Regions from separate parts of the Homo sapiens genome. Here all the other regions are linked to region 2. The links are contacts of gene promoters, found by promoter capture Hi-C in blood cells and fetal thymus (Javierre and others, 2016). All regions are on one chromosome and are shown on one strand. The core of a region is centred on a gene start or on the middle of the fragment in contact, and the rest is flanking DNA. Distances in the headings are between cores, read along the strand shown. Region 1 overlaps FMN1 (formin 1). Region 2 holds the start of SCG5 (secretogranin V). Region 3 overlaps FMN1 (formin 1). Region 4 overlaps FMN1 (formin 1). Region 5 overlaps FMN1 (formin 1). Region 6 overlaps FMN1 (formin 1). Region 7 overlaps FMN1 (formin 1).

Evidence for each region. Contacts are between HindIII fragments. The CHiCAGO score rates a contact against its expected background, and 5 or more counts as called.
Region 1: a contact is called between a fragment that was not itself captured here and the fragment with the promoter of SCG5 in region 2, in 4 of 17 cell types (M0 macrophages, M1 macrophages, M2 macrophages and 1 more). The highest score is 8.6, in M0 macrophages.
Region 3: a fragment that was not itself captured here is called in contact with the fragment with the promoter of SCG5 in region 2 in 2 of 17 cell types (M1 macrophages and M2 macrophages); the score reaches 5.6 in M1 macrophages.
Region 4: a contact is called between a fragment that was not itself captured here and the fragment with the promoter of SCG5 in region 2, in 1 of 17 cell types (M2 macrophages). The highest score is 5.7, in M2 macrophages.
Region 5: a contact is called between a fragment that was not itself captured here and the fragment with the promoter of SCG5 in region 2, in 3 of 17 cell types (M1 macrophages, M2 macrophages and M0 macrophages). The highest score is 6.4, in M1 macrophages.
Region 6: a fragment that was not itself captured here is called in contact with the fragment with the promoter of SCG5 in region 2 in 3 of 17 cell types (M1 macrophages, M2 macrophages and M0 macrophages); the score reaches 9.2 in M1 macrophages.
Region 7: a contact is called between a fragment that was not itself captured here and the fragment with the promoter of SCG5 in region 2, in 1 of 17 cell types (M1 macrophages). The highest score is 6.4, in M1 macrophages.

What each region holds. Positions count from the first base shown.
Region 1 is chr15:33,071,788-33,075,699 of GRCh38, forward strand. The region is part of intron 5 of FMN1 (formin 1); the gene reads right to left. It overlaps LOC124903459 (a long non-coding RNA gene), which reads left to right. Exons shown (of 2, transcript XR_007064574.1): 2 at 1-3,912. Among named protein-coding and RNA genes, the nearest start is that of FMN1, 120 kb to the right of the region's middle. The HindIII fragment of the contact is 2,701 bases long and covers 76-2,776 here.
Region 2 is chr15:32,639,953-32,643,703 of GRCh38, forward strand. SCG5 (secretogranin V) reads left to right here and starts at 1,758. Exons shown (of 6, transcript NM_001144757.3): 1 at 1,758-1,826; 2 at 3,634-3,751. The coding sequence starts at 3,641. ARHGAP11A-SCG5 (ARHGAP11A-SCG5 readthrough) reads left to right here. Exons shown (of 14, transcript NM_001368319.1): 10 at 3,634-3,751. RefSeq lists enhancers at 1,251-1,891, 1,892-2,530. The HindIII fragment of the contact is 7,166 bases long and covers 1-3,751 here.
Region 3 is chr15:33,091,437-33,095,259 of GRCh38, forward strand. The region is part of intron 4 of FMN1 (formin 1); the gene reads right to left. Among named protein-coding and RNA genes, the nearest start is that of FMN1, 100 kb to the right of the region's middle. The HindIII fragment of the contact is 1,238 bases long and covers 1,780-3,017 here.
Region 4 is chr15:33,119,550-33,123,516 of GRCh38, forward strand. All of the region lies in intron 4 of FMN1 (formin 1), which reads right to left. Among named protein-coding and RNA genes, the nearest start is that of FMN1, 73 kb to the right of the region's middle. The HindIII fragment of the contact is 5,184 bases long and covers 1-3,967 here.
Region 5 is chr15:33,050,701-33,054,719 of GRCh38, forward strand. All of the region lies in intron 6 of FMN1 (formin 1), which reads right to left. Among named protein-coding and RNA genes, the nearest start is that of FMN1, 140 kb to the right of the region's middle. The HindIII fragment of the contact is 4,366 bases long and covers 1-4,019 here.
Region 6 is chr15:33,025,053-33,028,568 of GRCh38, forward strand. The region is part of intron 6 of FMN1 (formin 1); the gene reads right to left. Among named protein-coding and RNA genes, the nearest start is that of FMN1, 170 kb to the right of the region's middle. The HindIII fragment of the contact is 1,897 bases long and covers 1,250-3,146 here.
Region 7 is chr15:33,140,400-33,144,445 of GRCh38, forward strand. The region is part of intron 4 of FMN1 (formin 1); the gene reads right to left. Among named protein-coding and RNA genes, the nearest start is that of FMN1, 52 kb to the right of the region's middle. The HindIII fragment of the contact is 1,394 bases long and covers 2,065-3,458 here.

The DNA of each region.
Region 1 (3,912 bases), core at 176-2,675, 430 kb after region 2:
GTTTCAGATTGTAATATTCAAATAAGCAACCTACAAATTCAATCTAAATTGGTCTTGAAAAATGAATCTCTTTAAAGCTTTAACATTTTCAGGGAGGATAGTAATCACTTCTCTTGGACATTATCTCAGTATCTATGTGCTGAAATAAGCACCTATTACACAAAACCAGCAGAAGCGAAGGCTTTCATCCTTTACAACCTACCTCAACTGATTCTCTTTTGTCTTGTCTTAACCTCAAGACAAACTCTCTAACTGCCACATCTGTGCAAAAATGATCTTCACCAAAACAAACAAACAAACAAAAAAACAACCTTATACTGAGGATGACCATTCTTTTCTTTTGAGTAACTTGGGGAAAAATCTACAAAAAATAATCTGTGCCAGATTAAAAATGATCCACCTCAGACAACCCACGTTTGAACTGTATGGGTTCACCTATACAATATGTTTTCAACCAAAAGAAGATGGAAAATGCAGTCTTCATGAGATGTGAAACCTGCACATATGAAGGGTTGACTTTTCAACTTTTCCTGTAAGTGGATTCCCAGAGCCTCCTGTGGGACTTGGGTATGAGAGGATTTGGGTATATGGGTGATCAATCTTCCAAGTAGATGGAGGGACAACTCTAAGTCAAAGGATACATGAGAAATAGGTAGCATTTGACCTACGTGATATTCTGTTATAACTCTGTTAAAAACAATCAGTACCTAGCTACTTAAAAATGTGAGCATAGTATTTGTGGAGAATTTACTAGCAGTGAATTCTTCATTTCTCCCATCTCACTGTCCTCTCAGCTGTACACAGATTGAAGGTGGAGCCAATTGTACCCCATGGCAAAAAGAACATCAGTCTAGGCTGGGCACAGTAGCTCACGCCTGTAATCCCAGCACTTTGGGAAGCCAAGGCAGGTGGATTACCTGAGGTCAGGAGTTCAAGACTAGCCTGGCCAACATGGCGAAATCCTGTCTCTACTAAAAATATAAAAATTAGCCAGGCATGGTGGTGGGCACCTGTAATCCCATCTACTTGGGAGGCTGAGGGAGGAGAATCACTTGAACCCATGAGGTGGAGGCTGCAGTGAGCCGAGATGCACCCCCTGCACTCCAGCCTGGGCAACAGAACAAGACTCCATCTCAAAAAAAAAAAAAAACAAAAACAGAACATCAGTCTAGTAAGTGTATACCTAGTGAGATAAGAACAATTGCAATAAAAGGCACATTATCTCCTATAGGCAGTAGAGCCTAGCTCCTTGACTTTCCTAATATTAGGAGATCAGCAATAAAAATTTTTAAATATCGTTTTGCGAAAACTGGACACTGAAAGAAACTTCTCTAAGGGCCCCCTTACTCTTTGTAGCACTTCTCGCTATTACTCAGTTTGGATAATTCACCCCCACATTCTCATCAGACTTCAGAAAGGCAACGTGAAAGTAAAGCAAACAGGATCGCATCTCACTGTTAGGCTACTTGTCATGATTCTCCTTGTCCAACTTATTTCAAGTTCTGGGCCTGATTTTAATGACAAATTGCTTCTAGCTTCCCAAAGTAGTTCAAATAGCTTCATGCGAAAACCGTTTGAAACAAAAAGTAGAAAGTGTAGTTAAACTTAGTAAGGGTAAATAAGAGTGAGGAAACTATTTCTGCAGGTGAAAAAAAGTTAAGAGCAATGTACTGGGAAAAATAAGTAAGTTCTGAATAAAGATATGGGTAGGTTAATGGGTGAAATCCTGGTTTCTTGGTTCAGGAAGCGTGTTTTAATTCAACAAACGGCATCTTGAACAAGAGGGGAGAGCTGAGGAAATTATAACATCATAAGGAGTCAAAAAAATGTCTGTAAAATGAGGGGTCATATAAAAGGAGTACAAGATTATGGAATAATTTGGGTAGAATCCAGTTGTTGTAAGGTTGAATGGGACCTTAGAAATAGTAGAAATTTACCTAGCTTGTTTTTTTTTTTTTTTTGAGACAGGGTCTCACTGCGTTACCCAGGCTGAAGTACAGTGGCACAATCACTGCTCAGGCAGCCTTCACCTCCCCTTGCTCAAATGATTCTCCCACCTCAGCCTCCTGAGCACCTGGGATTATAGTTGCGTGTCACCACGACCGACTAATTTTTGTATTTTTTCTAGAGACGGGGTTTCACCATGTTACCCAGGCTGGTCTCAAACTCCTGGCTTCAAGTAATCTGCCCACCTCGGCCCCCCAGTGTACTGGGGCTACAGGCATGAGCCACTGCCTCCGGCCTGGCTTGACCTTTTGTTTTAAAGATGAAGGCATTTGAGGTCAAGGGAAGCGGAACAACTGGCACCAGTTCATACTGCTCAAGTGCAGCACCCAGATGGGGAAAAAGGCATCCCATCTCCTGTTCACCCACATCACATCACCCTGCTGCTATGCTGTGGGATCTTACCTTCTTCCTGATCAGCATCTTCGTTATACTCATTTTCCACATCTTTGAAATGGAGACAACACCTTGCTTCTACCTAATTCACAGGAATATAAAGCCAAACAAAAGAAAAAGCCAGAGATACCCTTACACATCTAGTTTTGTAGCACTTTCCCTGCCTTCATGCTGTGGCGTTCCTCTGCCAATGCAACGCTTACAACAGCCTCTCTGGGTCATCCCATCAAAAGCCTGCAGCTGTTTTCACTAATTGGTTAAAAAGAAAACAGGCAGCACCTGCCTCTTGCAAGGACTGTGATTAAGGGCTTTTTTCTCTGTTGAAAAGTCTTAAGAGTAAAATATTTATAAGACTGGTTCCACTGGGCAGTATCAAAGCTTCTGTAGAAATGGATTGAATATAGATAACAAACTAGAAGAATCTAAAAGGAAAGGAGAAAGGCTGGGACATCTTGTGAAGCTTGAACAAAGGAAGACAGCAGTGGGTATGTAATCTTGTGATGACCAAGGAACACGGGCAGTGTGCATAGTTAAGAACAGGACCTCAGCCGGGTGCAGTGGCTCACGCCTGTAATCCTAGCACTTTGGGAGGCTGAGGCAGGCGGATCACTTGAGGCCAAGAGTTCAAGACCAGCCTGGTCAAGATGGTGGAACTCCGTCTCTACTAAAAATTCAAAAAAATTAGCCAGGCGTGGTGGTGGTGTGCGCCTGTAGTCCCAGCTACTCGGGAGGCTGAGGCAGGAGAATCGCTTGAACCTGGGAGGTGGAGGTTGCAGTGAGCCGAGATGGCACTACTGCACTCCAGCCTGGGCAACTGAGCAAGATTCCATCTCAAAAAAAAAAAAAAAAAAAAAAAAAAAGAACAGACCTTGAGTCCTGGGCTCACACCATGCTCCACTCCTACAAGAGACTTACCCTGGGGCAAGTTATATATAAGCTCCCTGTGCTGCAGCTCCCTCACCTGGAAACTGGTAAGAACAGTACCTACACTTCATGAATTGTTACGCGGCATACACTATTATGTGTTTGGCCCTCATTAATAACCTGCAGTAAGTAGGATATGTTTTCCCAGGAAAGGAACAGCTTCCTTAGGGACACCAACCATCATCTAACAGATGTTTTTAGCATTCTCATTATAAAACAAGTATTTACTGATGAACTAACAGCCCAAGCAGGAAGTTTTCTTCTCCCAACTCCCTCTGATATATGCACTTGGGCAGAAGGACTACATACAACACACCTCCGCATGCCCCAGCCGCAACCATGCCACAAGGAAACTGAGCTCCAAAGAAAATTCTTCCAAGGGATCCCTTTGGGTGTTGCAGGGCCAGTGTTTTCTGGATTGGATTCTTCCATCTGTGTCACTTGAGAAGAGAATAAAGTTTTCTCAAGTGGCCACTGCATAAGGTGACAAAGTTTGCCCTGTTCTTTATTTTGTTTCCCAAGCTCCAACATGATTTTTAAACCAACTCAGTTATTTGAGAGAAAAAAAAAATCCATGAATTTGGGGTT
Region 2 (3,751 bases), core at 508-3,007:
AATAACAACTTAATACATAGAACTTAGTAGACTGCATGGCCACATTCTATAATATGATCACTAAGAACTTAATGTAGGATTTTAATAGTCATGTTTTTCTTAATTGTGGCAGAATTTAAACCTTAATTTTGTGATCTTTTTTAGTTAGTTTGTTTTTTGTTTTCTTTTCTTTTTTTTTTTTTTTTTTTTTTGAGGCGGAGTCTCACTCTGTCGTCCAGGCTGGAGTGCAGTGGCACAATCTCAGCTCACCGCAACCTCCATCTCCCGAGTTCAAGCGATTCTTCTGCCTCAGCCTCCCAAGTAGTTGGGACTACAGGCATGCACCACCACGCCCAGCTAATTTTTGTAGTTTTAGTAGATACGGGATTTCACCATATTGGCCAGGCTGATCTCGAACTCCTGACCTTGTGATCCTCCCACCTTGGCCTCCCAAAGTGTTGGGATTATGGGCGTGAGCCACTGCACCTAACCTCTGTGATCTCTTAAATATATATGAAGTTTTATTTTTGAAACACCAAATTTCAAATGAAGCATAGGCATTTTGATCTATTTCAGTTAAATTTAACACAAAAGCAGTAAATTGTAGTGACTTCATTTTTTTCAACCACAAAATGAAGATAACAATGAACAAAGCTAAAGTAAAACTCAGAATTGAAAAAAGTCTCTGTGCATCAATAATAAATACTAACTCCAGCATGGCCAGTGAGCCTAGAGCCATTTAATGGATAGTGTTTGTCCTGTTGATTTAGCATGCATTGAAACAAGAAGCAAGAAGCAGATGAGCATCCGTGAAAGAAAAAGTACTGGGAAAGAGGCTTGGCTTCAAAATGAAAGGCCATGTGTCTCATAAATGAATTTTGCCAGCCTCTATTTATTGCATAAAAATTGCTGTAGATGATAATGGATTTGCTCTCTAGAGCTAAGATAAATAGATCTGGATTCTAACCTCATCAGGTTACTTGTTTTGAGACCCCCAGGTTCTTTACTCATCCTCCATCTTGATCAAATTTGTAGTGCCATATTTATTGTATGGCTTTACATTTTGATTTTAGTATTTGAACAAATTTCAGTGTTCAAGATTGCACATAGTAGGTGCTCCATAAACCCTTATTTAAGAATCTGGGACTACCTGGACATACTTCTACAGTATGCTGGGAGTATGGTTTCTCTTCAGGCCAAAGTGGAATTTTACTTGATGGTTTGTGTGGACGTTTAGAAATAACACTCAGAGCTGATATTTCTACAGATTTTCAAGTTTATCACTTTAATGGAAGTTTCTGGCTTCTTGTATTAAATATCCCCATAGTTTTCCTGATTAGTAAGAGGCCCCTCAGAGCAGGGTATACCTTATCATAGCCACCATTAAAAGTTCTTAGGACTTCATCTTTTGTCTCTCTACCATTCATTGCCTCTTCCCTCTTGAAGCTGAAAGGCTTTAGACACAAAAACAAAAAACATATTCTAGAAGTTGACAAAATTAAAGGTGTGCTGTAGTGGTGATCTGGCACGTTGTAATTGAGACTGAGGAGGTGAATGACTTACATGGAGGTCGATGGAGCTGAAGAGGGTCTCTAGGAAATGTCATAGTCAAGAGGTTTGTATGCAGAATGTGGGGGTTGAAGAGCTGTGCGGCTCCTGGTGAGAGGCACACTTATCTGGGATGCAGTCTGGGGAGTCCTGGCGAGGCAGCTTCCACCTGCTGGAGGAGGGGCCGGGGCGGAGCTAAGATGCGGAGGAGGGTGACGCACTAGCTCTCCAGTTCGCCCGTTCCTGGCCTGACCCCCACCAAGGCCCATACCGCAGTAGGCTCCTCGGGCTGCCCCTCGGTGAGTACAGTTTTGATGTCGGCTCGGCCGCCTGCCGCCAACCCGAGATTTGGTATTGCCAGTTGTGGGAGGGCGTCCTGCTAAAATCCTTGAGGTGGAGGCTGGGGTCAGACGAAGGATGCGTAGGGGATTAGAATGTTTGGCTATCAGTAAGGGGAAGGGAGTACTGAGGGAGGAGATTGTGTAGTTCATCAAATCAGAGCGGCGTTTGCTGGGATGACATCCTGCATTCAGAGTGGACAAGGGAAAGATGGAGATGGAGAGCCTCGTGTCTGCCTCCAGCCTTTTCCATCAGAATTGCAGATTTTGCTGTTAAACAGCTACTCTCAGCTCTTTGGAGAGCAAGGTTTTATATCTAGTGGCTAGAAAAGGCCTTTTCTTTGCAGAAAAAGAAATTGGAGGGTATAAAAATTTTTGTTTCAGTAAAGGAAATGCACGATTTTGCCTCCTCCCACCTCTCCATCCCCCATCCTCAGTAGAAGAATGATTAGAAGGAGGGTTTGCGCCGGTCCTGGTGGCTCACGCCTGTAATCCTAGCGCTTTGGGAGGCTGAGGGGAGGGGGTGGATCACCTGAGGTCAGGAGTTCGAGACCAGCCTGACCAATATGGTGAAACCCTGCCTCTATTAAAAATACAAAAATTAGCCGGGTTTGGTTGTGGGCGCCTGTAATTCCAGCTACTCGGGAGGCTGAGGCAGGAGAATCACTTGAACCTGGGAGGTGGAGGTTGCAGTGAGTCGAGATGGCGCCACTGCACTCCAGCCTGGGCAACAAGAGTGAAACTCCGTCTCAAAAAAAAAAAAAAAAAAAAAAAAAAAGGGTTTGCAAGGCCGCTGCCTGAAGCATGCATCCAAACACGTTAAGCAGCTGTGGGGTAAGCTGCAAGGATAATGTTCACTTGTTTTGCAGACATACCCATAGAAACCAACATTTTGGACAGGTTGACCCTCCCACCCCCAGGCTAGTTAACTCCCTCTCACCACCACTGCCTCCCCATATTCTAACCTCCAGAACTGTTAAGGCAATGTTAGCAACATAATAATAGCAATATAGGGGCTCATTCTGTGCCTGGCATTGTCCTAAACACTCTTAACATGTATTTGCACACACCCTCACAACAACCCTAAAAGGTAAATGCTTTAATTATCTCCGTTTTGCAGAGGAGGAAACTGAGGGACTTGCCTACGATCACTCAGCATGTGGCTGAGCAAACAAACCTCAAACTACCCCAGCAGATTGCAGGGCTGGATCTAAGGAACATTTTCCTTCCTTTCAGGATCGCAAACGTATTGGATGTTTGCTAAACTGAAATGTTTCCCTGCCACCACTCCCAACCTTCCTGAGCTTCTTGATTTGTGTCTTCCTGACTCCCTCCTGTTAGACTTTTATTCCCAGAGACTGGGAAAACCCAAGATGCCACTATCTCTTTCTCAAAATGTAAGCAAGTTTGGTTTATTTGTTTTAGTAAGAGAGGGAGAGAGTGATGAAGTTAGGAGTAATGCAGAACTTTCAGGGAGCTACAAGGAGGATAAAAATTATGAGTGAGAACCGCCATTCCAGCCTAGCTTTCTCAAGAATGCAAACAGAGGGAATTGGATACCTGCAACTGTTTTGTTTAATACCTTTCTGCAATGATGCTCTGCCTAGCATGGAAACTTAAGACAAAAGCAACCTCCTAAGGATTCTTTGTTACAACCCCTTTCTGGGTGGTCCTCGAACCACAACCTGGAGTGGTTGCATCATTATAATTGTATTATCACAATTGCCGATTGTAGCCTATCAGTATACATTTGGTCTTTTATCTGCAGGTTGACAATGGTCTCCAGGATGGTCTCTACCATGCTATCTGGCCTACTGTTTTGGCTGGCATCTGGATGGACTCCAGCATTTGCTTACAGCCCCCGGACCCCTGACCGGGTCTCAGAA
Region 3 (3,823 bases), core at 1,149-3,648, 450 kb after region 2:
TTTAGTTTTAAAGAGTTAATTTCTGATACCTAAGGTTTAACCAGACAATATCCCTATGAAGGAAACATGCAAGGTAAAACCATGATGCATAATAATTTTGGCAAGAATCATTTGGACAGAAAAGGACCATAAGTAACATAAAACTGAAATAAGTAACATAAAACCATTATTCTCAAAAGTCTGACAAAGTAGGTTAGGACAAATGACAAAGTCAACATTCTGACGACCACAATGTATTTATAAAATAATTTGGGAATGGAGAGTTTTAGTAATACAAACAACTTTTTTTCAGTCAAAAATAAAGCACGTCTGTATTTATTAAAATGGGTAATACCCAAGCTAGTCTCTCCAGCTGAATAAATTTAATAAAAAGAGAAAAAAATCATCTGAAATTAGATAAATATATTCTGTCAAAACAGTCAACTGTCATTTAATTTTCCGACACAAATAGATTTGGGGGTGTTAGATCTTTAGAGAATATTTTGTGAAAAACTGAATCAGTCTTATCAGTTTAAACATGTCTTTCCTTTTCATGTGCATACTACAAACCTGTTTTGTACTCAGTATTAGTTATTTTGTTCCTCAAAGACATTTCAACAGTTTGATCGATCACACATACACACACAGGTTATCTGTACAGCTGACCACGGTTAATACAACGTACAGCACAGTCACAGTAAAGGTAGGGTGACTTACCTTGGAACCACTTTGAAAGTCTGTGCTTTTCAAAGCCATTCACATGATGAGCTGCACTTCCTGATGCTAACCTACAACATCAGACTGAGGTTTTGCTGTCAATTATCAAAACAACAGAAGCAGACAGAATGCAAAGGTAATAATATGCCATTTAAAACAGGAGGCAGTGTCCACAGCTCATCTTTCCAAAATAGAATCAGTCTGTCTAGCAGGGGTACATTGGATTATTGTTCCCACTGTTTCACTCCCTCCCTGCAATATGATCACGCACCCACGGCCTTTTCTGGTCTATTTCCCCTGCCACGTGACTTCCTTTGGCCATCTGAATGTAAACAATGTGACAGTGTGCCAATTAAGGCTGTAAGACGCACGGTGTGTTTTCATGCCCCGCCCTGTGCTTCTGCCCTCACCATGAGACGAACATGGTCCTCGGGAGCTTCGAATGAGACGTGGAACATCTGTCCCAGGCACAGTCCTGCAAGCCTGGAGCCAAGCTCAGTCAAACCCAGGCCCAATCGAGTGAACCTTAGCCAACTCCCAGGCCAGTACGTAAAAACAATACATATTTATTATAAGCCACTGAGATTTGAGGCCTATTTGTTGAAATAGTTGCCTCATACACTATCATGTCTGCTCCCACTAGAAGCACTGTAATTATTAAAGACATTAAACCTTTTCAGCTGAGGGCTTAAACACAACAGTGTTTTTGTTTTGTAACTTGTACTGAAAAAAATTATTCAATGCACTGCAAGGATCTGAAAAATCAAGTGAAAAACTCATGGCACACCCATTTACTCATTCATACCAAGATTCATGCACAAACTACATTTTATTAAAAAGTTATTTACCAGATATTGTCTTTAATCGTCTAAGAATATACATATAAAAATATACCAATTTCCTAAAGGAAGTCTGTGAACATACTATATAACCAGCAGATCTGGACAAAAGTCCCTAAGGGACAAAATTACAGTGCCTTTTAAGCTGTTTCCTCTAATTCTCCCATCATACCAAGCCCTCACTTGACAGCAATGACGAAGTGGTTATGCATCCAGAAAGAGGAGAGAAAAAACAAAAACCCTAAGCTTAAAACTCTCCTCAGTTTTAGCTCCTGTGTTGTAGTGCCCAAGGCACTACATAAAATAAACCCTAAGAGGTAAAGTTTTCTCAGCCGTGAATATCAGAACTGATATGTACAGGTAGACATATCTTCCATTATGTTATTCAAACGTGTACTTACCAGCAAGAAAGACAGCAATCTAGATGTACAGCTAATGGAAAGTGACACTGCTAAGTGCTTGTGGAGTGGATGTGTGGCTGTGTGTGTAATCACTCATGTCTGTATCTAAGAAGACAGAGCTGTGGCAAAAGTATAGTCTCATGGCTGGTATCTGTCAATTAGAGATCAATGCTCACTAATGCAACTGCCCCCATTTTCATTCTCAGCAGTGTTAAATGACACAATGTCACCAAACCACCTAGGTAGATACAATTCTGAGAAGGTGTGGTATCTATCCACCCCAGCCTCTAACTCCTCACTGGGAAGTATGTGGGGAGAGAAATGATGAATGAGCAAAGATGGACAGGCGGAAGGTGTGGCCAGGCAGAGAAAGGCTGATGGCAAATCAAAAAGTAGCAGAGAGTGGGGAGCAAGCTCTGTAAGTCTGAACATTGATGAGGAAAGCATCCATAGCCATCAGGCAACTGCAATGTAGTTTGCATTTCTAAAATCATGCTTAAATTCAAATAAAATAAAACAAATTTACAGTTGGAAAGAATCTTGTATATCTCCCCACCTACATGCTCATTTTATAGTTGAGAGAACCAAAACCCATGAAGATTGCAGTATTTCCAACATGCCCAGCTAGCAGCAAAGGCAGAACTAAAATCTAAGTTCTTTATGCTATTTAGAGAAAGATATTATTGCCAGTCTCCAGATGAGAATATTGAGGGCTAAGAGAGAAGCAGACGTGAACAAGTTAAGAGCGTGGGTACAGGGCTTTAACATGTGGGCTAAATTCCTGGCTGTGACCTTTACTAATTATTTGACCTTGGTGAAGTTACCAAAACTCCCTGAGTCTTTTTCCCTCATCAATAAAATGAAGATAATAAGAATATGTCTGATATTGAACTAGGCTCACAATTATTTTCTTTCAGAAGACTTTTCCTGGGCTGGGGGATAGATAGATTTGATGGGAGAAGCAAGTAATTTCCTGTTTTAAGTAAAGAACTCTATATACAATGAGGGCATATCCAACATCACACAGTCATGTGAAAGGCTATTTTTCTTTTGTCAGAGAAGATAAGGAGAATAACAATAAAGCTTATAAGAATTCAGTTGCACTGCAGTGCAGCAGATCCTAAATCTGTTCATGTTCCAAAAATAGAATTCACGTCATCAAATGCAACAGCTCCAAGTAAGTGGCTGATCATCTCTGGAAACAACAGCTCCTCAGGGTCGTTCATAGATACCCTATGATACTCCTTCCCAGAAAGTCAAACATAGGAGCCTAGAGCCATGAATGGAACTATTTATAGTCATGCCTTTAAATGAAATAGCATTTTAAGGAAGTATATAAATATCTCTTTGATTATTTTATTAACCTCCTTCCACGGTTTTCTCCTGTGAAGAATACTAGTTGAGGGATGTGTATTACTCAGACTAGGAAACTTATGTGTGGCCATAGTTACACTGGATATTTTAACACTTGAAAAACAGGGGCACAGATGATGCTAACAATGGATAGAGCACCTAGGTAAGTCCTGATGCAGAAAAGATCAAGGAAAGAACAAATTTAGGAGATTGTAGGATTCACTGAGACATTAAAAGCCTCCGTCTACTCCCAGATAATAAATGCTCAAAACATTAGATGTTAGTACTTCAAATACTTAAGTGATCAAAAAATTTTAGTATGTTTGGTTATAAAGAATATGACCGGGTGCAGTGGCCCACCCCTGTAATTCCAGCACTTTGGGAAGCTGAGGTGGGCAGATCACTAGAGGTCAGGAGTTTGAGACCAGCCTGGCCAACATGGCAAAACCCCATCTCTACTGAAAATACAAAAAGTAACTGGGTGTGGTGGGTGGTGCCTGTAATCCCAGCTACTTGGAAGGCTGAGGCACAAGA
Region 4 (3,967 bases), core at 1,035-3,534, 480 kb after region 2:
GCCCTATTAATGATAAAACTTTCTGTAAAAAACCAGCACTATTCTTGAAGAGCTTGCTTTTATTTTCTTTCTCTTTCAAGGGATAGAAGTGATCACTCTGTTTTACAAAAGATGTTTTCAGTTAAACACAAAACTTCCAAAAATTTTTTCATTTTTTTGAATCATCTCTCAAAACTAAGCTCTCATATTCTAAAAACTGTTTGTACTATATTCGTCTTTAAAATGTGTTAGGAATTTCATTTTCAGATTTTGAAAGCCAGTCTTCTTCTTTGCTCTCATAAAATGACCTCCCCATCACTAGGTTTAGCCTTGCATGTAAACTATGAAAAATCACTGTATAATTATCTTAATGAGACTTTGTGTTTATATTGTGTCTTCTATCTAAAGAGCTCAAAGCGTTTTGCAAACATGATCTTATTAAGCGTCACAACACCTCATTCAGGAATGCGATGGTAAGGATTATTATTATCAATTTTAACAGGTGGGGAAACTAAGAGATTAGCAATTAAATGACTCAATTTGAGGTTACAATGTTAGTTAAAGGCACAGTTTGATTCAGGACTCTGACATCTATTTCCAAGGACATACCCAAGTGACCAATGGAGAGCAGCATAGTGAAATGAAAATTGTTTTTCACTTCTCAGAAATAATCTGTTCTTTTGCTCTACGGCTTTGAAGAACATTAAACATAAGGCAATTACAAAATAATTTGTTTACAAAACTTGGCACACCCTGCTAAAGATAGCAGATGTGCTAACTCCAGTCACTTTATTCTCCTTGCTGACCCTTTCCAAGGGCCATCATCATCTTCCAGGTCAATGGATTAGGTTACCAGTTGTGCCCATAGTGTTTACAGAGTGGTTAGCTACTGCACTTTTCCTACACACCGGCAGGGAAGACATGTTCAAAGTTAGCCATCTAGTGCATGTTTATTGGTGGACATTCCAGCAACAAGGAATTGTATAATCCAAAAAATGAGAAAACCTCATGTCGCCAACCCCAGAGATTACTATTTTTTTATGTGGGGATATACGAACACACACGTAGTGATACCAAGATACTGTTCGGCAGCTTTTGTTGTCTTTTCGTGTTCTGGTATTCCTGGATCATTGGTGTGTCAGTTCATATATATCTACATCATTCTTTTAAGTGACTACATACCCATTTTACAGACATATATATAAGATATGGAAAAATTTATTCTACCTATTACCCTTTTACTGCACATTTGGTTTTTTTAATCCTATGAACATTCTTGCATGTTTATGTATTTTTAAAAGTATTTCTTTTGAATCTACTTTCCATTTTTTTACAAGCTCTCCAGGACTCTTTCTTCTGAAAATATACCTGTTGCACTATACACTGAACTACTTATAGTACAGTAAGCCCATCATCTTGGATGCAAAGTAAATTCACCTCTTTTCCTCCCATTGCTTCTTGATAGAGGTTTTAGTCTTAATTATAGGATAGTACTCTGCCTTCATTCATATAACCCAAAAATGTAAACTGGAGAACCTTCCACATGGGACAGATGAAAGGTTGGCTAGATGATGTTGTAACAAGAGTATACAATACCCCATCTATGATTTACAGTCTACTTTCTCCAAGGACTTAGATCAACAACAACAAAAAATTAAACTCTTGCCTTTTATCAATAGAGCAGTGGGTCCTGTGTCTTGAAACAAAAAGTATTCTGCAAATAAAACTTCATCATATGCCTGATTCTGAGTTTCAATACCACAATGACCAATTACTTTGTACCTCTGCTCCCTCAGACCACATGGCGGATTCAGGGTCACATTCAATGCCAGTGTCAATATTGTTTACAATGTTCTGGACTGTCTATAAATTGAGAGCACAAAGGGAGAAACTCATTCCCTCATTTCCAGTATTACATGTAGTTCTATATGATACAAAGGTAGAAATCATTTGTCTATTACACCATTTCCCAGTAAAGTACATAGTTGACAAGTTGGTTTTGTTTTGTTTGTTTTGTTTTTTAGATAGTCTTGCTCTGTCGCCAGGGTAGAGTGCAGTGGCGCAATCTTGGCTCACTGCAACCTCCACCTCCCGGGTTCAACTGATTCTCGTGCCTCAGCCTCCTGAGTAGCTGGGATTACAGGTGTCAGCCACCATGCCCAGCTTCTTTTTGTATGTTTAGTAGAGACAAGATTTCACCATGTTGGCCAGGATGGTCTCAATCTCCTGACCCCTCAAGTGATCCGCCTGCCTCAGCCTCCCAAAGTGCTAGGATTATAGGCGTGAGCCACCACACCCGGCCAAATTTTTGTTTTTCTGTTTGTTTGAATTTTAGGAATTTGAAAACAAAAAGAAAGCAGTAGACTTAGAGCCACAATAAGAAAAATCTAGAACTTAATTAGGTCTCTCTCATTGTGTTACCAATTAATTCATTTATTCATTTACCAAAAGTGTACTGCAAGCAAACAATATGAAGAGGACACGATCTCTACTTTCAAGGAGCACAATACAGTCAGGCCAATAGACAAAGAACAGACAAATAAAGAATACTACTCTGGAAGTGCAGGAAAGGGCCTGGGAACTTTTACAGTTAACTACACAGTGAAACAAATTATCCCTTGTCCACGGAATTAAGTGCAATGTTCTTAGGTGAAACCTAAAAGATTGAAAACTCTGACCTATAGTCACCAAAAAAAGTGAATAAGCTAAGTCTTATTTATTCTTGTCATATTCCAATTTTGTGTTTCTACTCCGTAAAACGTTGTTGTGTTCCGCAAATTCAAGTAACCATGTAATTGTGCTTTAAAAGAAGAAAATTTTTTAACCCAGGCATGTATTAAACAATTTTCTCCCAAAAAGTACATGCCTGGTGGGAAAGTAAGGTAGGTCAGAGTAGGTTTTATAAAATTAGTATTGGCTTTAGACAGTACACATTGGCTCATCCTTTTACTGCTCAGCCCACAGTACATTTCATGTATACCTTCTAGATGTCCCAAGTATTTAAAATGCAACAGGATAAACAACCAGGCCAATATTCTGACATCACCTTCTAAACAGTACCACTAGCTAATGCAGCAGTAATAAAATCTAATGGCCACTAGTGACAGGTACAATGTGAGAGAGAAAACTTGGAGTTTGTGTCAAATCTAGGAACACTAAATTGGCACATGCTGGCCTATCCTACTCCAGGTTTGCTCCTTCAAAAAGCTAATGATGTGTGTCAACAAAGATTGACCACGGCAACAGATTGCTGCCATTATTCTGTTACATAATCTGAAAGAAGAGGGAACTGGAATATTTCTTATATATAGGAATAGAAAGAGATTGACATAGTATAGGCTATCCAATCTTGATAAAGCAAACCAACATCTATGCAGCATGTACTATGTGCCAGGCAGTGAGCTAAATGCTTTATATATACATGGCCTAACAATATCCTGCTAGGTAATTAATGTCACAAATAAAAAGACAGGCCGAGAGAGGTTAAGTAATCTGACCATGTTCACACAACTAAATAGGTTTACAGCATCTCCACATCCTTATAACTAAAGCCCAAATTGTAGAATCATCTAGAATGCCTTTCTTTCAACGTCATATCGTCAAGCCTTGTGGATCTATTTGCGCAATGTTTTCACATCCATCCACTTATTTCCAGGCCCAATTCAAGTCCCCATCAACTGGGGATCACCAACTGGCCTTCCTTTTTCTAACTTATTTCTGTCCACTCTGCTGCTTAATCTTTCCAAATCAAAACTGGGGTCATGTCACTCCTTTGCTCAAAGGCCTTCCATAGCTTTTCACCATCTACTGAATTAGGTAAATACTCCTGAATCTGGCATTCAAAGCCTACTGCACTATATAGTATACAGACTTGGTTCAAACAATGTTTGTTGAATGAATACATGGCACTAAGCTAAGACTCACTATCTGTGGCAATAGTTCCCCAAAGTAGTATCATAGCATATTAAGTAATAAATATGTCCTCAAA
Region 5 (4,019 bases), core at 648-3,147, 410 kb after region 2:
AACAATTCCACTTCAGTCCTATCAAGGTACTCACAGGTATGCATAAACCAAATATACAAGAATTTAATGACAGCATTATTTGCAAACAGTGAAAGATTCTGAGCAATCAAAAGGTTCATTACTACAGGCATAGGTCTATAAATTACTACTGTATGGAATACTATGCAGCCATTAAAATAATGAGGAAGAGGGAGAGTGCCCTGTATGCACTGACATAGAAAGGTTTCAGTATATGGTAAAAAGCAGCTCATCTTAGAACAGATTTTATAGTATGACCCCACTTGTGTGGAAATATTTTGTGATGTGCCACTCAGTGTATACGTATTCATGAGTGCATATACAAGTGTGTGAGAAGCAATGTAAGTAACTGTTCACAAGGACCCCCCCTTTAAGAAGGCAGAGGGATCGGGGGATATAGAGTGAAGGATGATTTTTGCTTTTTCCTCTATATATATACCATTCTCTGAATTAGGTATGATCATTCCAGGGTATGTTCCTTGGATTTTTTACACTGCTTCCTTCTATCCTTCCTGAGAATCAGATGTGTCCTCTTTAATCAGAATTGAATAAAACAGTCTGGGAAAGGTTAAGGTGAATTATGGCTGGGCTGAAAGAAATGGGGGCCACATTAAAAATGGAAAGAAAAAACTAAACTGGAAGTCAGAAGACCAACTTTCTAGTCCTGGTTCTGTTGTTACAGTAGGTAGCTAGTCAGACATGAGCAGGGCAGGAGAGGGTCCCCTGCCACCACCAGGATGTCGGGCAACCATCAGGTGATAGGTGGTTGTGACAGTGCCGCTCTAATAATTGGTCACACCTGGTGCCAGAGAAAGGCAGTCTCCCAATAGATATAAACACCTGAAACTGGTGATCAGCAGCTTCCTAGTAAGATCTCAGGAGTTGGGTGAGTGGGCTCAAGCATGGGCATGAAGAGGCAAAACAGCAGAGTTTTTAGCTGGTATATGACCTTCCTCTAGAAACGCTTGACTGGTTAGGGAAAAATGCCTCAAGTGAGCACGTGTACAACTCCAATAAACACACTGTACATGCAGCCCCTCCCAAGTGCTGGCAGGCCACTGCACATGCTGATAGCCCACTCCAAGGGAGGAATCCGGGGAGAAGGACGCAAGACCCCGGAAGCATACCAACATATAAAACCCCAAGTCAAAGGTCAAACACTGCACTTGATCTCTCAAGTAACCCACTTGGCCCTGTTCTAAGTGTATTTTACTTCCTTTTGTTCCAGCTCTAAAGTTTTTTAATCAACTTTCACTCCTGCTCTAAAACTTGCCTTCGTCTCTCACTCTGCTGCCTTATGTCCCTTGGTCAAATTCTTTCTTCTGAGGAGGAAAGAATTGAGGCCGATGCTAACACTATCACTAATTAGCAAATGTGATAACCTTTCTGGACATCTATTTCTCTGTAATAAGGAGAGAGCTAAACCTGATATTCTCCAAGGTTCCTTCCAGTTCAAAGAACACATGAATACTATACATAACTATGCTGGTGTCTTAGCCTTGAGATTCTAGTTTCCCAACTGAAATGTCTGAAAATACTTGATTTAAAATATTTTATTAAAATTATCATCAGCATGTAGCCACTAAAAATGGTTACTAGGAAGACTACAGAAAAAACATGGAAAACATTGATAGGATAAAAAGGAACTCGATAAAAATGCTGGGTTCAGCATGGACACAACCATGCAAATACACGTGCATGGAATCAAAGACTTAAACAAATACACAAAAAGGAAAACAGTTACTTCACCTGTCTGATGTCTTTTTCTGACACCAACCAATTCTCCAATAGCAACACCAATTCTCTGATGTCAACTGGGTGTCCTACAATTCAATTCAATTCAATTCAATTCTGACACCAGAGTTAGCATCAGACTCCAGGTTTACAGGCTCAGCCCCACAATGATAGTGACAGGAGGCAGCCAAATACCTAGGCAGATAAGGGTGGATCCCTGGTGAAACCCCACCTCAAAGCTAAAGACAGTTTAAAGCCTGAAAGCCAAGCTGTAAGTTAAATCCTTGGACCAGACTGAGAACTTATCTTCCCATTTGATGCGTTTTCCTCTGATTGATCCCCACCCTTCCCCTATTTTATATACACCTACCCTTTTCTAATTGGTTTTCTACACTGTCATGCCCACCTTTGAGTGGTGTCTTTACTTTAACCTTTTTTGCATATTCACAAACCAATCAGCATGCACTACCCATTGTGAGTCCATAAAATGCCCCAGACCCAACCACAGGCAGAGAAACCACCTGACTGTGGGGGTGTGGGATCATCCCCCACTCCCCACAGTCCCTTCTCTGCTGAAAGTTGTTCCATTGTTCAATAAAATCCTCCACTCTCATCACCCTTCAATCGTCAGTGTGACCTCATTCTTCTTGAACGCTGGACAAGAGCTTGGGACCCACTGAGTGCAGGTACTCTGAAAGGCTGTAGAACTAGGCCTTTGCCCTCACTGGTGGACGCCAGCCAACTGCTGACTGGGCTGCTAACACACCACCATCCACCCGGCTGCAGACAGCAGAACTAAAAAAACTAATTAGCACACTAACATTCCCTCTGGGGCTTTGGGGTCGCAGGCACCCCTGCCTGGGCATTGCCACATTCCCCTTGAGGTAACATGCCTGGTCTGGCAATGGGCACTGCACAGAAGTTGCTCCTATGTTGGCACTTGGAGCTGCCAGCCAAACCCTGCACTCGTTCACTCATGTGCTCACTCCCACAAGGGGCTGAGTGCAGCATGCCGAGTAGACGGGGTGCCCCTGCTGCAAGTTCGGGAAAGGGGCCAAGAAGAATCCTGCTTCAACAAGACTGCCCTCATTTTGGAGGCCAATAGCAAGTACTGGGTCCTCAGAATATCCATACATCTGACTAACTTGGCTACAAACTTCGGTGTTCCCACAATACTCCCCATCTCAAGTTTGATAATTTCCTGGAAAAGACTCACAGACCTAAAAAAAAAATGCTGTCTGTATTGTTATAATGTATTATAAAGAATACAAATGAGCTGCCAAATGGAGAGGTATAGGTGAAGTCCAGAAGGGTCTCCAGTAAAGGGAGTCTCTGCCCCTGTGGAGCTGAGGCATGCTACTTTTCCAACGTGAGGATGTGTTCGTTAACTCAGAAACTCTCCAGATGCTATGGTTTAGCGTTCTTTCCTTTCTTTGTTTTCTTTTTTCCTTTTCTTTTCTTTCTTTCGGAGTTTTTAATGTAGATTTCACTACGTAGGCATGATTGAGTAAGTAAATCACTGGACACTGGTGAATGAACTCAATCTCCAGTGCCTCTCCTCTCCCTGAGAGTTGAGGAGGTGCTAAAAAATCCAACCCTCTAACGAAGATGTGAACCTTCCGGTGTCCAACCCCCATCCTGAAACTTTCTAGGGGCCTTACCAGGAGTCATCTCATTTGCATAAACTCAAGTACAGTTGAAATGGGCTCATTGAATAATAAAAAATCCACATATTACTCCTATTTCTCAGGAAATTCAAAGGGTTTTAGGAGATCTGTGCCTGGAAATAGAGACAAAGACCAAAAATATATTTCCTACTGTACAACTAAATATACATTTCTGCTTACACTCCACCATCTCACCAAGATGTTCTTTAAGAGTATTTCTACAATCCTGTAAATTAAAAGGTTAGATTTTTTTCATCTAAATATTCTTATATTTATTAAGTCCTCAACTATGACTATGGCATCATTTCATTTTTACATGGGTTTGGATCAAGTAAAGGTGCCCTTCCGCAAAAAAACTTTCAGGATGTAAAAACTGGTTCCTGTAAGAAAAGAAAGGCATGATCTTAACAATGTTGCATCCATCTATACTATTTCATACTGAGAAGCAAGAGCAATCTGTTTATCAAACCCAATTACCCTTTCCCTCCTCTTCTACATGAAATGGTCGCAATAGATTAGGTAGAGAGAAAGAAAACTAAACACTTTGCAAACATCAAAAAGGAGTTGAAGAAATGAGGGATCCCACCATGAGGCAGACAT
Region 6 (3,516 bases), core at 948-3,447, 390 kb after region 2:
ATAAGTATAAAACATGGGATTAATAACAATTTTACCCAAGTGGCTGGGGTAGGGCATATAGAAGGCTTCAAATATATTTGTAATGTTTTATTTCCTAAGTTAAGTAGTGAGTATAATCATGAAGTTGAACACAACTAACATAATACACTTAAAATCTATGAAGCAAAAGAAGCTGAGAGAAATTCAATAACAAAATTAATCAAAATGATATGAAATATCCCTCTACCAGAAATAGATCAAGCAAATAAAAACATAATGACTGACACAATCAACAATCTTGATTATATATACCCCAGAACCAACAAATCAACATGTATCTTTTTCAGGAACATATATTTTCAAAATATATCACTGACATATTTGCAAAAAATTGATGATTCACAAAGAAAACCTTTCAAAAATTCTTCAAATACTGTCACACAGGCCATGCAAAAGTAATGCTTTCTATAATGCAATTAAATTAAAATCCACAATAAAATGATAAGCTAAAAACAATTAAAAGAAACTTTAAAAACCTAAAATTAACAAATCTATTTCAGCAATTTGTGAAACCCAACCAACCAACAAAGCAATTATGCGGCGTTTGTTCTAAGAATGTAGGAACTATATATTATCTGAAAATTTATCAGTGGTATCTCACATTAACATACTAATGGAGAAAACCTATTGTATCTCAAAATCTCAAAATGATACAGAATGACACAGATAAGGCTCCACATCATTCTTTGATTTTAAAAAGAAAAAAATCTTCTTAGCTAAGTTAGAATAGAAGAGAATCAGATTCAGAATATCTTTCAAGAACTTTCAACAAACTTTGAAAGTAACGGGAAAACTTCAGGAGGCACGATTTAAAATGCACACCATTACCCACATTTTCCTACATTAAACTAGAGGCGTGAGATAATGTGCTAAGAAAAGAGATGTAAGAATTGGAAAAGAAGAGATAAAACTGGTAATGTTTACAATGATATGGCTCTCAAAACTTACACTGTGACAGCATCTGAATGGGGTTTAAAAAACCCATGCTATATATTGCTTAGGCATACACACACACACACACACACACACACACACACACACAGAGGTTGATTGTAAACAGCAACCCACAGAGTTCTGCATGGTGGTAGCCACACATGAATGCTGGGAGAGTTAATCATCTCTGGGGAAAGAGGCAGAGAAATTGAATAAAGGGAGGTAACAAAAGGGGCCTCAACACTGGTTTTAAAAATCTAAAGAAAATATGATAAAAAGCTTAAGTATAGATGGTTAATATATAAATACTAACTCTACTTTATTCTATTTGTTTGAAATTATTCAGGATCCTTCTTTATAAACATTAGAGGATACGTCCAAATTTTCACACACACACACACACACACACACACACTTCTGTTTATAAGACTAGGTTTAGCCTTATAATCAGTGAGGAAAAAATTGCCTACCTCAAACAGAATGTACACTCAAACAATATATAAAGTACTTGTAAGAAAAAGCATATTCCTCATATAATACATATATGATTTTATATCATGATTATATAATGCATATATAAGCATTGGTTGACTTGACTGAAAATGGTAGAAGAATCTCTGTCCTTAGCTTGTGCTTTGACTCAGTAACTGACAGAGCCTTTTATTTAAAGCTGACAAAATGAACCTCAGGAGAGAGAGGTGAAGGTCAGTCTCTTAAGAGGCAGGTGAAAGTCAGCCAGATTTAACTCGACAGAGAGTGGAATTTTCTAGTAAACCAGGCCAGACAAGTACCCAGGAGGCCAGGCTACCTGCCCAGGTTTCTAAGGGAGACAGGACACTTGCATTTCCCACGTGGTGGAAAAGTACTCCAAAATATGTAACATATTGCAGCTGTCACTGGGCTTACTGCCTCTAAGAATAAGGTCCTATTTTGCATTGCTCCTACCATTCAAAATTTAAGATCTGAATTTGTGTGGAGTGTGGGGGTGCTGTTTTTAAATCTGCATCTCTCAATCCTAACACTAAAGACAAGAAAGCCTAACAGACATATTTTTTTTTTAATGCAAAAGTTTGGAATAGAAAACTAAGAAACAGCTTCCTATAGAAATATGGGAAGAGGTAAGCTCACATCAAGAGTACACAGGCCAGAAAATACGGACAGCACTCTGGTCTTCTAGTCCAGAAGCCTAGCCCATACCTCCACAGGGTGCCAGGAGATATGAGCTATACCTATTTTCTATTTTAATTTAGAAAATAAAAGTACAGGGTGCTCAGTTAAATGTAAACTTCAGAATAATAACAGATAATTTTTTAGTATAAGTGTGTCCCATTCAATATTTGAAATATACTAAGTAATTACTCATTCACTCAGTTCACATCTTGTGTTTTATCTGGCAACTCTAGGAACTCTTAAGTATTCTTAGTGAGAACTGTATGCAATGGGCCAGGAATTTAAAGAAATTGGGGACTACATTTGCACACAGGTGGAAACAGAGCCAACTAGAATCACGGACAGCCAGAAACACTAGTTTTAGACATTTCAGTTTAACGTGCCCTTTTCAAATCTTCTGGGGTTTTGTTGTTGCTTTATGGTAGTAGTTTTAGCTTTGTTTTTCCCCCAAGTAATCTGATCTTTCCTGATAACCGACTTTCTCATAACTGATACAGTGAGAAACGATCTAGTGTTCAAAGTGAACGGGATAAACAATAAAAGAACAAATGAAATGGAGACAACACACACACACGAATATACATACACAGCACCTGTTGTCCCTTCTTGTAGAGGGTTAGAAATATGACAGACAAGAGCATATGAAGAAAAGCACACACTGATTCACAGCCAAAATACAGTTGCTGCTCAAAGGTTGTACTAACAGGCTTCTGAAAATCAGTCATCCACATCTCACCACCTGTGATCCCGCTACAGTGTTACTAGCATCAAAATGAGAAAAGATGAACTGGAGAAGCAACCAGCTCACTTGGGCAAGTCAAAATTTCTCCATGAGCCAGCCTATTTAATCCCTACCCCCATAAAGCGTTTATTCCAGTGGCTTTAAACATTGACTACATATTACAATCACCTGGGGAGGTTTAAAATTTACTTATGTCTGGATTCCAGCCCTAGACATAGACTTAATTGGCATGAGATGCGTGTTAGGAGCTGGAATTTTTAAAAGCTTTCCAGGTGACTCTGATAGACATCCAAAGTCAAGAACTGCATTTGTAAGTTATCCCCAAACAGTGACACCTGGGGAAGGCCAGAAAGTGACACGTGTATATAGATTATAAAAAGTAAGCTCCTACATTTGACTCTCACTCCAAGCTCTCTGCTATCCAAGTTGATAAGGCCACAAAAGTGAACTTTGCAGTGAGCCAAGAGCTAATATAAAGGAACTGGGTTCTTCCTTACCCTACACAAGTTGCCCTGAAATTCTAGCAACTGGAAATAATGCTCAAATGCTGGAAAAAACATATAAAGAACTACAGAGGAAAAAATAAAAATAAAAATAAAAATAAATAAATAAATAAAAATTTTTAAAAAGGC
Region 7 (4,046 bases), core at 1,512-4,011, 500 kb after region 2:
CATCTGAAGTTCAGATCCTGTTTTGAAGGGGTCTGCTCTAATGGAAGAGCCACTGGGGCAAGGAACGACAGATTCCCCCATCCGATGTTGATTCACGACTCAGGTATCAGACACTACGATCAAGGCCACGTGCACACAGAGAAACATATGATTCCTGCCACCCAGGAGCTGGTGATCTAGTGTCAGACTCACATGTAAACAAATAATTACAACAATGTAAAGTGCTTTAAGATGGAAGAAGCACAAAGCAATATCTGGAATATAAAAAACGAAATGCTTAACTCTAACCAGAGAAGTTGGAGAGCTTTATGGAAAAAATGACATGTGTGCTAGGTCTTGACAGATGAGAAGTTTATCGTGGAAACAGCATGTGCAAAGGCACAGAAGTAAAGGAAGGAAGCAAAAGGAAGGGGAAGAAAAGAAAGGTAGAATATAAATTTGAAAAAATATTTTCCAATCTAATATGTATAAACTAGGATCTTATTTTAATTGTCATATTCCTAATTACTTGTGAGGCTAAGTATATTCTTATATACTGAATTCATCATTCAAACTTTCTTATAAGTGAATTGACTATCTCCTTTGCTCATTTTTTTCCTCCTGGGTAGTTTGCCTTTCTTTTATTAATTGATATGATTTCTTTACAAATGTTGGATGCTAATTATCAGTCATAATAGCTACAAATATCTCCTCCCAGCTTTTCTTCTTACTTTGTTAAATGATATCATCTGTCATAGTCAAATGCTTTTCCTTTAATTTTAATTTTATATTATTTAAATATAGACAAATTCACCAGTAATCTTCATTATGTTTTGTGCCTTTAAGAAACCCTTTCCTAATCCTTCCATATTTTCTTCTAAAAGCTGTTAAGTTTTCCTTTTCACATTTCAGTTCAAAATCCACCTGAAATAGATTTTTGTGCATGGCATAAGGTACATCCAACTGTTTTTTTTCCCCATAGGGATAACTAATTGTCCTAGCATCATTCATCAAATAATTTATCCTCTCCCATTACAAATAATGGGAGCTGTTATGGGTAACATAACGTCACCCATCACGGGTAGGATCCCCTGGAAAATAGACCCTGAAAAGAGATTCCATGCAGAAGGTTTAGTGGAGAGTGCTCTTTGGAGCAATACCTATGGGAAAGTGAGGGAAGCAGGATTGGAGAAGATGCAATTTTGACAGAGGCCTCAGGTGATAATGTAGGGAGCATGGAGACTGGGATGGCCCTTCAGAACTGCCCTACAAAAGGCAATGGTGCTGAGCTTCCGTACTCTCACACACAGATAAGTCATTGGTCAGGCCTGCGCTTGAGAAGAAGGTGTAATCTTGGGAGTACCTCCCCCCTTGCAGCTGAGTACCTCCCCAGGAACTGCCCTCTGCAAATGACACTTCAGATGGAACCTCAAAATGGCAGAGGTAGCTCCCATTTGGAGAGGGCAGTTCCTGGGGAGGCACTCAGCTGTAAGCCTTTGGCTGGCAATGCTCCCAGCAGCGGAGAGAACAGGGTGTTAGTCTTGCAAGGGGGATCTGGGTGGCGCACACAGCATACACTATACCAACTTGCTCATGTATCACTTTGACATTGTGATACATGGGCTACGCTGTTTAGTATAACTCTTTTCCCCATGAAATAATTTTCAGATATGTTTCCATTCTGGTCACCAACACGTAATCTAATCTGTCAATAATGCCCTTCAAATATGTACCTATAACTATACCAACAACTCCAGATTCATCAGACTCTATAAAGTACAGAAGCACATTTTCTCCCTTGATATGAATATCTATTTCTAATGTAGCCTGACTTTTTGTTCTCAACAGCTATACATTACCCAACTGGCTCAAAATCAATATGCTGTCAGCTAAAACAGAAACTGAGGTCCCTGATGTCCTTTACCTGTAAGTGGATAGTTTAATCTCAATGCAGGATTTTTCCATTATCCTCTTGAGTTTAATCTTGTTCCATTTAACTTAGGAAAATTTAACAAGCTGTGATTCTGTCACCTAACACCTCTCGCTGTTTCAATTTTTCTCTAAATTTGATACAGGATGCCAAAAAGCTTTTAAAAAGAAAATCCCATGAGGGCAGAGAGCAGCGATGAGGCTTGTGGCATGCCAATGATACCCTGACTTCTACTTCCACTCTCAGAAACCCATCCCATAACCCATCTGTAAAGATCTTGCTCTGCTAGGTAATATTAATAGCAGGAATTTTTTCAGCATATTAATATAATGACTTACAGTGAGTTTTGTACATAGCTTTTGGAAACCAATCACATGACCTCAACTTACATTTGCATTATACACAAGTTTTCTAGCAACAGTGCTTACACAGAAGGGAAACTTCCATGGTGGGCATTAGGCACCCAGCTGGTGAGCCTTGCAGAACTCCCTGAATCACAGCCTACAAGAGTTACAGGTCCCTGCCTGGCCTTCTAGTTCACCAATGTGTTGGGCTATAAAATGTACCTTGGTTCAGACGTGCTGTCCTTTGATCATGGATAATGCAACATGGTTAATCTGTGACCAGTGAAGTACATGAAACATTAAACCGCCTCTGGTTTCTGTTTCAAGTTTGATCACTTGACTGCCCCTCAGTAACTGGATTTTACAATGAAGTTAAATCTCATTTAAAAATGTAAAGCTGTCTGTTCTGGTAAAGCCAATCATATGTTGTAAAGTTATTCCATTTAAAAGATCAGTTTCTTTGTTCCCCAAAGGTTTGACTTTGAGTACCCAAGTTCCATTTAATTCTACTCACATCTCTGAGTACATTTAGATTCCCAAACCCATGCAGAGATGAATAGTTTCAAGGTTAGTTAAAAATAAAAAAAGCATTTTCTAGCAAAATAGGGTAACAGCATCTAACATTGATAATAATCACATGATATGACATGAAACCAGTTTCATTGTTTAACATAGGAAAAATGTGAAAAATGTGTCCCTGTTACCAGTTTTCAGACTAAGTTATCTCATCATTAATCCATCCATTTATTCATTCATTCAATAGAACACTTACTGAGTATATGTCATTGGTCAGTTTCAGTAACTGACCCAGGTATACAATGATGAATGTGATACCATTGCTATCTTTGAGGAGAGATTTTTTTAAAAACCAAAAATAAAGAGACATCTGTTTCCATTTTGAAGTGTTCTATCACTAGCAGAAACAGGTTCCAAATGAAGATGGGACACCAAGAACAAAGCAAGGCAAACCCATTTTACTCTGCTGGGTGGCATGTCAGCTGCAGGAATTCCCAATCATCCTGTCTGATTACTCCTAAGGACAATTTGTCGCTTGCAGCCACTGCCTTATCACTGTAAGTTGGAAGGTTGTTTTTAATTAAAGTCAACAATCATAATTTTCTTAAAAGAATCAGTACCTATTAATTTACTGTTTATGAAACTGCAAAGCATGCATCCAAAGTAAAAGATAAGGTCCTACATTCAAAAGCTTGATAAGAGCTAAAGATTAAGTTCTTTATCACAGAAGAATCGCTGAGTTAATATTATAAAAATACAGATGAGAGGCAGATAATATGTCTTGAGGTCCAAAACCTATCGCCTTGATAGAAATATGATATGGAAATCAGTAGGGACAAAATTACTATTAGATGCAGAAATTGAGAACACTTTGAAGAGAGAAAATGTGACTTCACGTGATTCAGAAATGATTGGGAGGAAGAAAGGGGACCTTTGTTTTTCTTTTCTTTTGCTCTTTCATCCTTTAAGATTTCACACTGAAATGACATTAGTAGTCAGACATACCATTCCAATTCCTTTCTGACTTGATTTAATTTAGAAAATTTTAAAACCCTGATTTAATTCAAAGGCTACCGAGTGAGCCAGTTTGAAGCTAGACACTGTGGGGAGTACCTCAGAGGTATCCTATACGATCTCTGCCCTCAAGTTTTTTTATTAATGCAAATTAGGTAGAAATCCAATATTAGGCCGGGCATGGTGGCTCACTCCTGTAATCCCAGCACTTTGGGAGGCCGAGGTGGGCGGATCATGAGGTCAGGAGATCAAGACCATCCTGG